Regions from separate parts of the Homo sapiens genome. Here region 1 is linked to region 2. Evidence: promoter capture Hi-C in human tissues and cell types (Jung and others, 2019). All regions are on one chromosome and are shown on one strand. The core of a region is centred on a gene start or on the middle of the fragment in contact, and the rest is flanking DNA. Distances in the headings are between cores, read along the strand shown. Region 1 holds the start of KNSTRN (kinetochore localized astrin (SPAG5) binding protein). Region 2 overlaps LOC105370941 (a long non-coding RNA gene).

What was found. Contacts are between HindIII fragments. The study calls those that stand out against the background at their distance.
Region 1: the fragment with the promoter of KNSTRN here is called in contact with a fragment that was not itself captured in region 2 in 2 of the 25 tissues and cell types used here (IMR-90 fibroblasts and lymphoblastoid cells).

The regions. Positions count from the first base shown.
Region 1 is chr15:40,378,958-40,385,203 of GRCh38, reverse strand. It overlaps KNSTRN (kinetochore localized astrin (SPAG5) binding protein), which reads right to left and starts at 2,483. Exons shown (of 9, transcript NM_033286.4): 1 at 2,160-2,483; 2 at 1,882-1,976. The coding sequence starts at 2,368. RefSeq lists enhancers at 1,405-1,926, 1,992-2,161, 1,927-2,450, 2,410-2,479, 3,105-3,605. The HindIII fragment of the contact is 15,043 bases long and covers 47-6,246 here.
Region 2 is chr15:39,785,217-39,790,681 of GRCh38, reverse strand. LOC105370941 (a long non-coding RNA gene) reads right to left here. Exons shown (of 1, transcript NR_135665.1): 1 at 5,065-5,465. Among named protein-coding and RNA genes, the nearest start is that of FSIP1, 5.1 kb to the right of the region's middle. The HindIII fragment of the contact is 5,703 bases long and covers 1-4,207 here.

The sequences.
Region 1 (6,246 bases), core at 1,234-3,733, 590 kb before region 2:
TTCTGGACTTACTCTCACTTTGTTCACTGTAAAATGGCCCCTTTAAGTTTGACCTAACTTAAGAGCCATTACAATCAAATCAAATTGAAGAAATGCAGTACAAATGAAGTATTAAAAGGGTTCTTTCTGAGGTGTCTGTCTGAAGAAAAAGGTAATCTTGGAGGAATATCATCTTCTCCTCTCTCAAGTATTAGTAAGTTTTAAACAATAACAAATCTACTCCATGTAAAATGGAGTTAACAGTCAATTGATCAAAATTAACACTCTTCATTGACTAGAATTGGTTCCAATAATTTGTATTTGCTAAAATCTAGGATTGCACTGTAGGAAAAATTCAGTAGGATTTAACAAAGCTGTCTCTTAAAAATGGGAGACACTGGGAGAGGAACTGGATGGCTGGTGTCAAGGAAGGGAAGGAAACTTGTTTATCATTGTATATGGTTTTCCACCTTTTTTTTTTTCACATGTGCATATATTACTTATCCAGCCCACGCTCAAAATCAAAACAAAAATCCTGGGAGGCAGCCTAAAAATTTGAAACTGTTCCAGTTACATATGATCATAAAGCTGGGACAGAGATAGAAATCAAAGAGATGAACACTTCCAACTTGGCTGAGAGAGCTAGTCACTGCCCACTGACTCAGGGGCACCGCATCTAAGGGAAAGACACAGCAGCTGAGAGACCTGGCTCCAGTTCTTCCAGCAACTCCTAGTCCCCGCTGGTGCCAGGATTACCATTCAGGTGTTCTGCGGCAACACAAGACAACAAACAACCCATTAAGCCTTTGGAGAAAAGCCTATTTACTTCAGAGCTCAATCTTTTTTTTTTTGAGACGGAGTCTCGCTCTGTCGCCCAGGCTGGAGTGCAGTGGCGCAATATCGGCTCACTGCAAGCTCCGCCTCCCGGGTTCACGCCATTCTCCTGCCTCAGCCTCCCAAGTAGCTGGGACTACAGGCGCCCGCCACCACGCCCGGCTAAGTTTTTGTATTTTTTAGTAGAGACGGTGCTTCACCGTGTTAGCCAGGATGGTCTCCATCTCCTGACCTCGTGATCTGCCCACCTCGCCCTCCCAAAGTGCTGGGATTACAGGCGTGAGCCACCGTGCCTGGCCACTTCAGCGCTCCATCTTGCCAAGGTTTATGTACCAGCTGAGTGGAATCATCTGGGAAGGGATCATAAATAGCTACTCCATAATCTCCCACAACAGTTTTCTGATGTCTGAAGCTTACTCTGTACTATAATCTCTAGATTAGGCAGTTCCCCGACTGCAGACCCCATGAGATGACTTTCAACCACAAGCAAAGCAACACAAAGCAGATGGCAAAGCAATTAAAAACTATTTTTAATCATGTCTCTCTCTTCGCCCAAGTTTCTCAAATACTGTGCCTAGGTCTAACCCCTCTCTCCCACTTCACTCAACAAACGTGTATTGAGAATGTGGTAATGAGAAACACGGTGCAGATATAAAGGTGAACAAAGAACCCTAAGTATCCCACTTCTCAAATGATTCTCCTCTTTCCTCCCTGAAAACAAACCCAATCCCTCAAGATAGCCCAAGTCTGGAAATAAGACGATAACCGATTAGAAGGGGATTCCTAGCTTAATGGGAATAACATTGTACAATAACCAACAACTTGAATCTAACTGATGAATACAGTACACATGCGGGCAGAAAAGTGCAGAGCACGTCTAAAATCCTACCACATGGTCCTTCCCTTAACTCCCATCATAAACCTACATAGCCTGGTTATAGGGGGCTCACAGGTTTTCAGGGCCGACGGGACGCCCTTCCCCGTGCCCGCGCCACCCATTCGATCTCCACACTCCCGAGACCATCCCCGGCCAGGCCGCAGTGCCCCGGGCGTGGCTTGGACCCTCACCTGCCGGCTGGCCGCCGCTCAGCGCAGAGGGGGGCTGCAGGCTATACACTGTCTTAACCACACTGGTCATCGTAACGAGGCGGCACGGCTGAACCCTGGAAGGTACAGGATGAATGTTACCCAGCGCTGGGCCACTGGGCCCGAGAGAGTGGAGGGCCCGGGGATAGCGCGACCCGACAGGCCCCGGCTCGGGGTTGGAAAAGAGAAAATCCTCCTTTCCCAGCTCATTCCGTCCTTCCTCCCATCCAGCCCAGTCCCTCGCCCCGGGAGAGCCGAACCCAGGAGCCCGCCGGTCCTGCCCGCAGTCCTTCTCGCTCTCGTTTAAAAGATTCCCTGCAGCAACTGTCGTGCCACCGGCTAAGTCGGCCGCCTGGGTTTCAAATAGAAACTTCCGGTAGCTAGGCGGAAGTGGGTGGGAATCGCACTCTGTAGACAGCCATGTTGTACGGAAAACTCTGTCCAGGGGCGGGGCTTCGGGAGCCGCCATACTGTACGGAAGGTTCGCTCAGAGGCCAGAGCCAGACCTAGCGAAAGGTGTTGGAGCCCCCAGGTCTGGGCAGAGGAGGAGGGTGATGCAATTTGTAGGCTTGAATGGAGCTAATGAGCTACCAGCGTCATATTCCGGGATGGAGACGCAAACGTGGCGACATTTAGGGTCCATGTCACAATCCTCTTTATTTAGTTTGGGATTGTTAGGGATATTGCCAGGAGCACAGGTTATTTGGATGAAAACTACACGTTACAGGTGGAGAGTGGCAGGTGAGGCTTGAAGAAAAGGACCTATGGGCTGAGATACCTGAGGCACCTACCTGAGGTCCTAATTTTAATAGCACTTATCCAGATTTTCAGTAGTGATTCAAAGCTACTCCCAATAAACAGGGTAGCTTCCATTACTAAATGCACTAGCTCATTCATTTCATCTGGCATTTATTGAGTACCTGCTGATTACCCAACAGTGTTCTCAGTGGGTGGAAGGGAGTGAGGGAGGGCAAATATCAAGATTGACCTTGGCTCTGCCCTCCTGGAGTTTACAACTTAGAAAACAGACAGTGAACAAATAATCACATAAATAAATATATATTTACGGATTGTGGTGAAATTGTGAAGAAGGCTGGGCACAGTGGCTCACAGCTGTAATTATAGCACTTTGGGAGGTGGAGGCGGGTGAATTGCTTGAGTCCAGGAGTTTGAGACCACCCTGGGCGACATGGTGCAACCCCGTCTCTACAAAAAATACAGAAATTAGCCAGGTGTCGTGGCATGCTCCTGTAGTCCCAGCTACCCTGGAGGCTGAGGTGGGGGAATTATGTGACCCTGGGCGGGGCAGAGGTTGCAGTGAGCGGAGATCGCGCCACTGCACTTCACCCTGGGTGACAGAGCGTGATCTCAAAAATCAAACCAAAACACACACACTATGAAGAAAAAGTACAAAATCGTATAAGATAGAAAAGCAGGGAAACTTAGATTATATTGGGGGCTCAGGGAAGACCTCTCTGAGATGATGTTTGATTAAGGAAGGAGAGGGAGTTAATTTCATTGGGGAAAGGGGAAAATGCAAAGTCCCAAGGCAGAAATGGGTTCTTCTATAGGCACAGAAAGATAGGAAGAGAGTGGTACAGATAAAGCTGGAGAAATAAGCAGTCAAAAGACAGATTTTACAGGCCAAGGTATAGAGATTAGATTTTATCTAAAAGTAATGGAAAGCCACTGAAGTATTATAGCAGGAGAGTGTCATCCAATTTATATTTTATTTTATTTTATTATTATTTTTTGAGACAGGGTCTCACTCTGTTGCCCAGGCTGGAGTGCAATCATAGTTCACTGCAACCTTGAACTCCTGGGCTCAGGAGATCCTCCCACCTCGGCCTCCTGAGTAGCTAAGACTAAAGGTGCCTGCCACCAGACCCAGCTAATTTTTGTAGAGATGGGGTCCTGCTATGATGCCCAGGCTGGTCTTAAACCCCTGGCCTCAAATGATCCTCCCACTTCAGCCTCCCAAAGTGTTGGAATTACAGGCATGAGCCACTGTACCTGGCTCAATTTATATATACTTTATATATATATTCTTTTCTTTCTTTTTTTTTTTGGAGACGGAGTCTCACTCTGTTGCCCAGGCTGGAGTGCAGTGGCACGATCTCGGCTCACTGCAACCTCCGCCTCCTGAGTTAAAGCGATTCTCCTGCCTCAGTCTCCCGAGTAGCTGGGTCTACAGTGCCACCACCACGCTTGGCTAATTTTTTATATTTTTAGTAGAGACGGGGTTTCACCATGTTGGCCAGACTGGTCTCAAACTCCTGACCTCAGGTGATCTGCTCGCTTCGGCCTCCCAAAGTACTGGGATTACAGGCGTGAGCCACCACGCCCAGTCCTTTTTCTTTTCGAATAATTGGGCTTGAATAATTGTGTGGATAGAGTCACTATTTTCTGCTGGGGGAGATTGAGAGTTGGGTTTTGAACGTGGAAAACCTCGACATATCTTTGAGGCATTCCGGTGGAGTGGTCAAGTAGGCAATTGGAAATACAGGCCCTGAGCCCAGAAGAGAGCCTGGATTGGAGATACACCCTTGGGAGTTGTTGACATATGAATGTACTTAAAATCTTGATATTTAGGAGTTCGAGACCAGCCTGGCCAACATGATGAAACCCCGTCTCTGCTAAAAATACAAAAAAATGGCCAGGCACAGTGGCTCACACCTGTAATCCCAGCACTTTGGGAGGCTGAGGTGGGATCACTTAAGGCCAGAAATTCGAAACCAGCCTGGCCAACATGGTGAAACTCCATCTCTACTAAAAATACAAAAAACTAGCCAGGCATGGTGGTGCATGCCTGTAATCCCAGCTACTTGGGAGGCTAAGGCAGGAGAATGACTTGAACCTCAGAGGTGGAGGTTGCAGTGAGCCGAGATGGTGCCACTGTACTCCAGCCTGGGTGACAGAGCGAGACTCTGTCTCAAACAAAATAAAATAAAAAATAAAATAAAACCTTGATATTTGATGAGCTCAAGAGAAGAAGTGTGCAGAGAGCCTTTGGGCCAAGGACAGGGACACCTGCATTTAAAAGTTGCAATGGTAATAAGGTGCTTGCCAAGAAACCTGATAAAGAAGTGCCAGAGAGGTGAGAAGAAAACAAAAAAGGGTGGTGTTCCAAAATCCAAGGAGGAAGTGGCAAGCTGCTGAAGGAGGGAGTGGTGAACTATTGAAAATAGTTGAAAGGGCAAGCAGAATGAGAACGAAAAGCATCCAATGAATTTAGCAACAGAGAAGTCATGATGAGTCTAGCAAGAGGAATGCTGGTGGAGCGTTTGGAGTGGCAGTCACATGGGCATGGGTTGAAGAGTACGTGGGAGATGAGGAAGCAGAGATGGCAGAACTCCAGGCGTCTGTTGCAAAAAGAGCAGAGCAACTGGGCAGTAACTGGAGATGGGTTATGGGGGTCAAAGGAAGCTTTCCTTAAAGCTGTGGATATGTGTGCTGATAGGAACGAGCCAGCAGAACAGAGGGAAAGGATACTCAGGAGCAAGGAAGAAGGAAGATGGGATCCAGAGTAGCATCTTTAAATTCCTTTATTCATGCGCCCCCACAAAATAAAAAAATAAAAAAACCCTCTTGCCTGTTTTCACTTGATACCTAAAATTTAAGTTTACTTTTATTTTTATTTTTTTAGAGGCAGGATCTTGCTATGTCACCCAGGCTAGAGTGCAGTGGCTATTCACAGGTGTGATCATAGATAGCGTACTGTAGCCTTGAACTTCTGGACTCAAGCCATCCTCTCACTTCAGCCTCCTAAGTAGCCAAGACTGTAGGCATGCACTATCTCACCTGGCTTAAATTTTTTTCATAACTTTAAATCATTGTAAAGGACATACTTTCTGCCTGTTGTATATTGTGTATACTTTTTTTCTTTTTTTTTGAGATACGGTCTCGCTTGGTTTCCCAGGCTGGAGTGCAGTTGTGCGATCATAGCTCACTGCAGCCTTCAACTCTTGGGCTCAAGCGATCTTCCTGCCTCAGCGTCCCAAGTAGTTGGGGCTATAGGCACGTGCCACCATGCCTGGCTAATTTTAAAATTTTTTTGTGGAGATGAAGTCTTGCTATGTTGCCCAGGCTGGTCGGGAGCTCCTGGCCTCAACTGATTCTCCCACCTTGGCCTCCCAAAGTGCTGAGATTACAGGCATGAGCCACCCACCTGGTCACATTGTGTATACTTTGTATTCTTTTCTTTTTTCTTTTTTTTTTTTTTTTTGAGATGGAGTCTCATTCTTTTGCCCAGGCTGGAGTGCAGTGGTGCCATCTCGGCTCATTGCAACCTCTGTCTCCCGTACTCAAGCGATTCTCCTGCCTCAGCCTCCTGAGTAGCTGGGATTA
Region 2 (5,465 bases), core at 107-2,606:
TTTTGTATTTTTTAGTAGAGACGGGGTTTCACCGTGTTAGCCAGGATGGTCTAGATCTCCTGACCTCGTGATCCGCCCGCCTCTGCCTCCCAAAGTGCTGGGATTACAGGCGTGAGCCACCGTGCCCGGCCCTCGCTAGAGGATTTAACTCAGAAAAAATGACCAATGAATGATAGAAAATTGAATGCATGGATGCAAGTGTCCACCCGAATGCAAAATTCTCACAAATTTGGGTCCAGGTAATGATCTCTAGATTCATTTAAAAAATTGTTGGCAATTTTCACCAAAATACCATCATCTGTAGCAAGCTATACAAGATAGATGAGCATTTAATGCACACCAGATATGAATTGAACCTGATAATTCATCTGCTTTTCTTTCATTCTCCAGCATGGATTGGATGGTTGCTGTTATTTGACATGAAAATACTCATTTTATTAACAAGTGCAATGAAAAATTCAGTATAGTGTCTCAAGAACATATTAATTTCTCTATTTCAACAAAATAAGGAACAGTGCTAGAGAGTTATCTTCCCATTGTTTGACAGATAGGCTGGTAAACTGAAGTCTGCAGAGGTGAAGAGGCTTGCCGTTCCATAACAGAGGTGGGATACATATGCAACTCTCATAAAACCTAAACAAATTCTGTTCTATTGCATCGTTCTATAAAAATAGGGCACTTCTCTTGTGGTTTTGCTTGCTTAATTCTTTGTTCGACAATTGCAGGGACAAGACAGATGGTTGTTACCATTACCCAGATGTTTCTAAACAAGTAATTCTTGCTGCCATGCACGTTGAGCAGATGCCTTTTACATTGTTATGAATGTTGGGTTGAGAAGCAGGTCATTTCCAAAGAGAGCAGAGACTGCTTAAATCAGAAAATCACAGGGTCTCAGAGCTGGAAGTAGTGGTAGAAACCTTTATCTACCTCTTATTTACTAGACAAAGAAACTGAGGTGGAAAGAGGTTAAGAGACTAGGCCCAGGCCACACTGTTCTTGGCAAAGACAGGACAGAAAATCCAGAGATGTGTATTTTAAAATGTGTGTCAGTGATGAATTACAAAAATATAAAACATCACAAATTTTGAACAAAATTAAAGCACTAATTTTAGTTTGCCTATTATGGCAAAATAAGGGGAAAATAAGCCAGCTTCTATTAAGAAAGGAGTTTGGATGATCAAATTTTAAAAATGTAAACAAGAAAACCAAGTCTTCAAAATGATGACTAGTTCCTAGTGTAATAAACACTGTATGTTCAGATAGAAACATTACTTTGGATTCCAGCTAAGAAAAAGATTGTGTAAGAAATAAAGTGAGAAGCTAAGAATGCCAGGATGAGACTTAAACATTGTGGCAGCCTGACCCATGACTGATGAACAAACCCCTGGGGTGGTTTACTTCTTATTTCTTTATGTCTGAGATGTTAACTCTGAGAAAAATCATTTCCTTACCTTGCTGCTTAACACCCTAAATATTTGATTTGAATGTTTCTAATATGGCATCTTAATTATTTTAGCTTCCTTTATTTTTTGTTAAAATATGTACAAAGGTTTACATAATAATGAAGGCTTACATAACTATATACTAAAGCTTCATTTTAGTATTGTAGGAAAACGGCCTGTTGCATAGCAAGATGACCAATGTGTTCCTGTAGCATAGATAAACTCTCATAGAGATGCTTATCTAACCACCCCAGGGGTCATGAGTTTTGCAAGAAGGCCTGAGGCATGACTGGCTGCACATCTTTCCCTAAAATCTTGCTATATAAAAGATGCTTTCTGGAGGGCAGTTGCGGGGATCCACTGTCTCTCTGGCCGCCAGAGACATGGCTTCTGTTTGTAAGCCCTTATTGAATGTTTCTTTCTGAGAAACTGGACTTGTCAGCTTCTTTCATTGGCCTCTCAGCTTCCTTGGCCTTTGGGGGTAGGTTTGCATAGACCTGCTTACCTCAACCAAGTACACAGATCAGGAGATCCAATTTAAAACAACAAACTAACAAACCCCTATGGGATCAGAGAGACCAAGCTCAATACTGAAGTTAGGTTTTGGACTCAGAGACAAGCTTACCTGTAGGTTGAAAGCATGAAGCATGAAACCCAATGCATGGGCAATGTTCAGAATCTGTTGGTTTCAGCCCAGGATTGATAGTTGCAGTGCAATTTCAGCCATTATGCGCAAGCAGTGTCACATCCATTCAGCTGACAGGGGCGAGACACTAATCTCAGTGGGCATCCAGCAACTGAAACTGCAGCTGGCCTTGGGAAGTTTCTGCCAACTCTTTAAATCTTTACAGGTACAGAGTTGCTGCGGGTGACCAAACTTTGTAGCCAGTAAGATCATGAGAAAGTTAAGCAGTCTGTTACTTTGAGGGAATTTCCTTAGAAAAGAAGAGAAACCGATTTTTTTCTCCTTTCTGGTGAGAATGACTCACTTGGCAGAGCTGATTGCTTTAGGGCCCACTTGACATGACACCTTCCCCCTGCAAATGACTCTGGATATTATAACATACCTTCGTTTTCATTGATTTACTTTACTATCTTTAAAAACAACCCTCTAGGCCAGAAACATGTAGCTGCACTGCTATGTGTGTGTGTGTGTGTGTATGTGTGCACTGATTTTTACACAATTTCACAATGTCCTGGAAGTTTGTGGCCCCCTAGGTTGACATTCGGATCGCTCGAGCCAGTTGAATAGTTATATGACAATACATGATCTAACTTCTTTAACTGAAAACAAACCTAAAGTCATCACTGTTTTTGGACCAATAGGCATTGAGAAGTTGTAAGCTTGATCTTTTAAAAAATGGAGACATCCACTGACCAGCAGCTAATTCTGTGCAGCACTCCACAGCAGACAGGGAGAGGAGGGAAAGAGTTCTACAGGGAGAGCATTTTTCAGTCTCTAGCCTGCTGTTTACAAAGGAAGTGCTGGATGTCACTGTTCACAGCCTCCGTGTAGAACAGCTGCAGGGGGCTCCATGGTGCCTCCAGGAGCAATGTCCTCACCACTATTTACCCTCTAAAACATTAACTTGAAGTCAGTGGTTCATCTGTACCACAAGCACCAAGGGACTTGTTAAAAATGCAGATTCCTGGTCTGCATTCCAGACCCACTGAATCATGTAATAGGGACTAGAATCAATATTTTAAATAACACCTGAACTGATCCTTCTCAACAACAAAATCTGACAACCCATTTGAATCGGGTTTATTTCACAGCTTTTAAGTTCTAAAAAATGTACTAAAATAAGGTACTAAGCACATATGAAACATATACTTAACATGTATTTTACTTTCAATAATAATAGCATTAAGCCTGGGCAACATAGGGAGACCTCACCTCTACAAAAAAAAAAAAAAAAATTCAACCGGGCATGGTGTTGCATGCCTGTAGTCCCAGCTACTCATGAGGCTGAGGTGGGAGGTTGCTTGAACCTGGGAAGTTGAGGCTGCAGTGAGCCATGATCATTGTGCTACTGCACTCCAGCCTGGGTGAAAGAGCATGACTTTATCTCAAAAAAAAAAAAAAAAAAGAAAAAGAAAAAAGTGTTACCTGTTCCAGAATCTGATTGTTGTTTTTTTCAGGCTTTATTTACTTCCCTGTTCATGACCCTTGCTGGCATGGATGGCATTGTGGCCAAGCAGGATTGGGAGATGCTGGAGGGAGTACAGTTGGTATAAAAGGGGTACATGGAATAAAACATGTATTTCTTCTTAAGTCTACTGATTTAATGTAAATACAGATGTATGAGAATTTTCAGAGTCTCAAAGTCACCATGGTTTTTTGATATTATTTATAGGTACTAACATTTTAAAAAATGCAGTTTTTTTGAGATCAAATTTTCACTTTTCCTATTTGGGTGGCTATTTAAAGATGCATCCAGGCACAATTCAGACATACAAGATACTTCAGTTCAGTGGTTTCTTGAATTACACCTAAAATCCAAAGGAACGTGTTTCTGAAAGTGGCTGCCAATTTTTTTTTTTAAGAGGACAATCAGCACCATCTAGTGGACACAAATATCTCCTCTTCTAGAATTCGGACCCCTGAGGAGATGGAGGGCAGGCTTTGGAACCTAGGTTGGAATCCCGGTGCCAGTTAGTTCCCCAACGACCTTGGGACAATTACTTACCCTTTAGGTGCTCTGCTTCTCAACTCTAAATCCAGGTAATACTAGTGCCGACTCATAGAATGTTATGAATGAAGTGAAATGATGCTTGGAAGGCAAGTCTGAAACACTTTGTAAATGCAGTTTTTCAATAACACTAAGCATAGATTCACAGGACATGGGAACTATCCAGTGGTAAACACTATTATCTGCTCTCCAGTAGGAATGGCTATTATACACAAAATCCAGTGTGTAGAATCTACGATATGAGGCTTAATGAGATCCCTCTCCTACCATATTGTTACATTCGGTTGAAGTTTATGGTGAGGAAAGGGCAACCGGGGCAACAAGGCTGAAATGGTAGTTGGTGCCCAGATGGCAAACAATGCTCTTGCTCGCTTTCATTCATTCAAATCTGACTCCACTCGGAAGGAGGATGTCAAGAGTAGGGAGAGACTGCAAACAAAAACAAAAGCTAACTCCGAAACTAACACTGCCACTGCCATATGTCACCAACCTGGAATGAGACCAGGGAAATTTTAGCTTCAAATATCTTGACTCTAGAAGAAATTTTTATGAATGACTTTGAAGGGCACAACACTTTCCAGGATGTGTTTGCGATTTTTGAAAATGGAACTGCAGAAAACACAGTATAGACATTTGGTGCTCTCGGACTTATATCCCCGTGCTGTTTTGAGGGTGTCACCTGCAATAGCTGACACAGAAGTATCTGGGGAAATTAAAAACAAATACACAACAAATGCAATTTATTAAAGCTGGCCCTTAAGGCACACACAGCCTCTCGGCAGTTTACAAAATGGAAGCAGCAGGAGGTAAATAAACACGTGAGAGTGACACAGAGACAAAACAATTCAAAATGAGATAAATAGTTTTATGCAAATATAGTCAATAGGGACTTAGTCTGGAAAGGTTACAAACAGTGAAGAGACACAAAGTTTACGTGGAACCCGAATTTTATTTTCACTTGCTTTATATGCATCTTATGTTGCATTTTAAAAACAACAGTTAAAAAAATGAAAACAGCAGTAATCATAGGTCCGCTTTTTCTTAGTTCAGCCCCTTCCCCCCCCGAGAAATTGGGAAGGTATTGTTTTCTTAGTGGACACTATTAGTCACCAAATTAAAAACTGGAAAGAATGGCCTTCGTTTATGGTGTATGAGAACCGTGCAGGCACTTGGCAATGATCTCGTCTTGCCGCTAGGTAAACAGCGGTCGGTGGACGGGGAGCATTGGCATCATCTAGGAGCCTGTTAGTCTCAGGTCTCACCTGATACTGAATCAACATTTTTTTTTTTGAATCAGCATTTTTAACAAGATTCCTCGGTGATTTGTCTG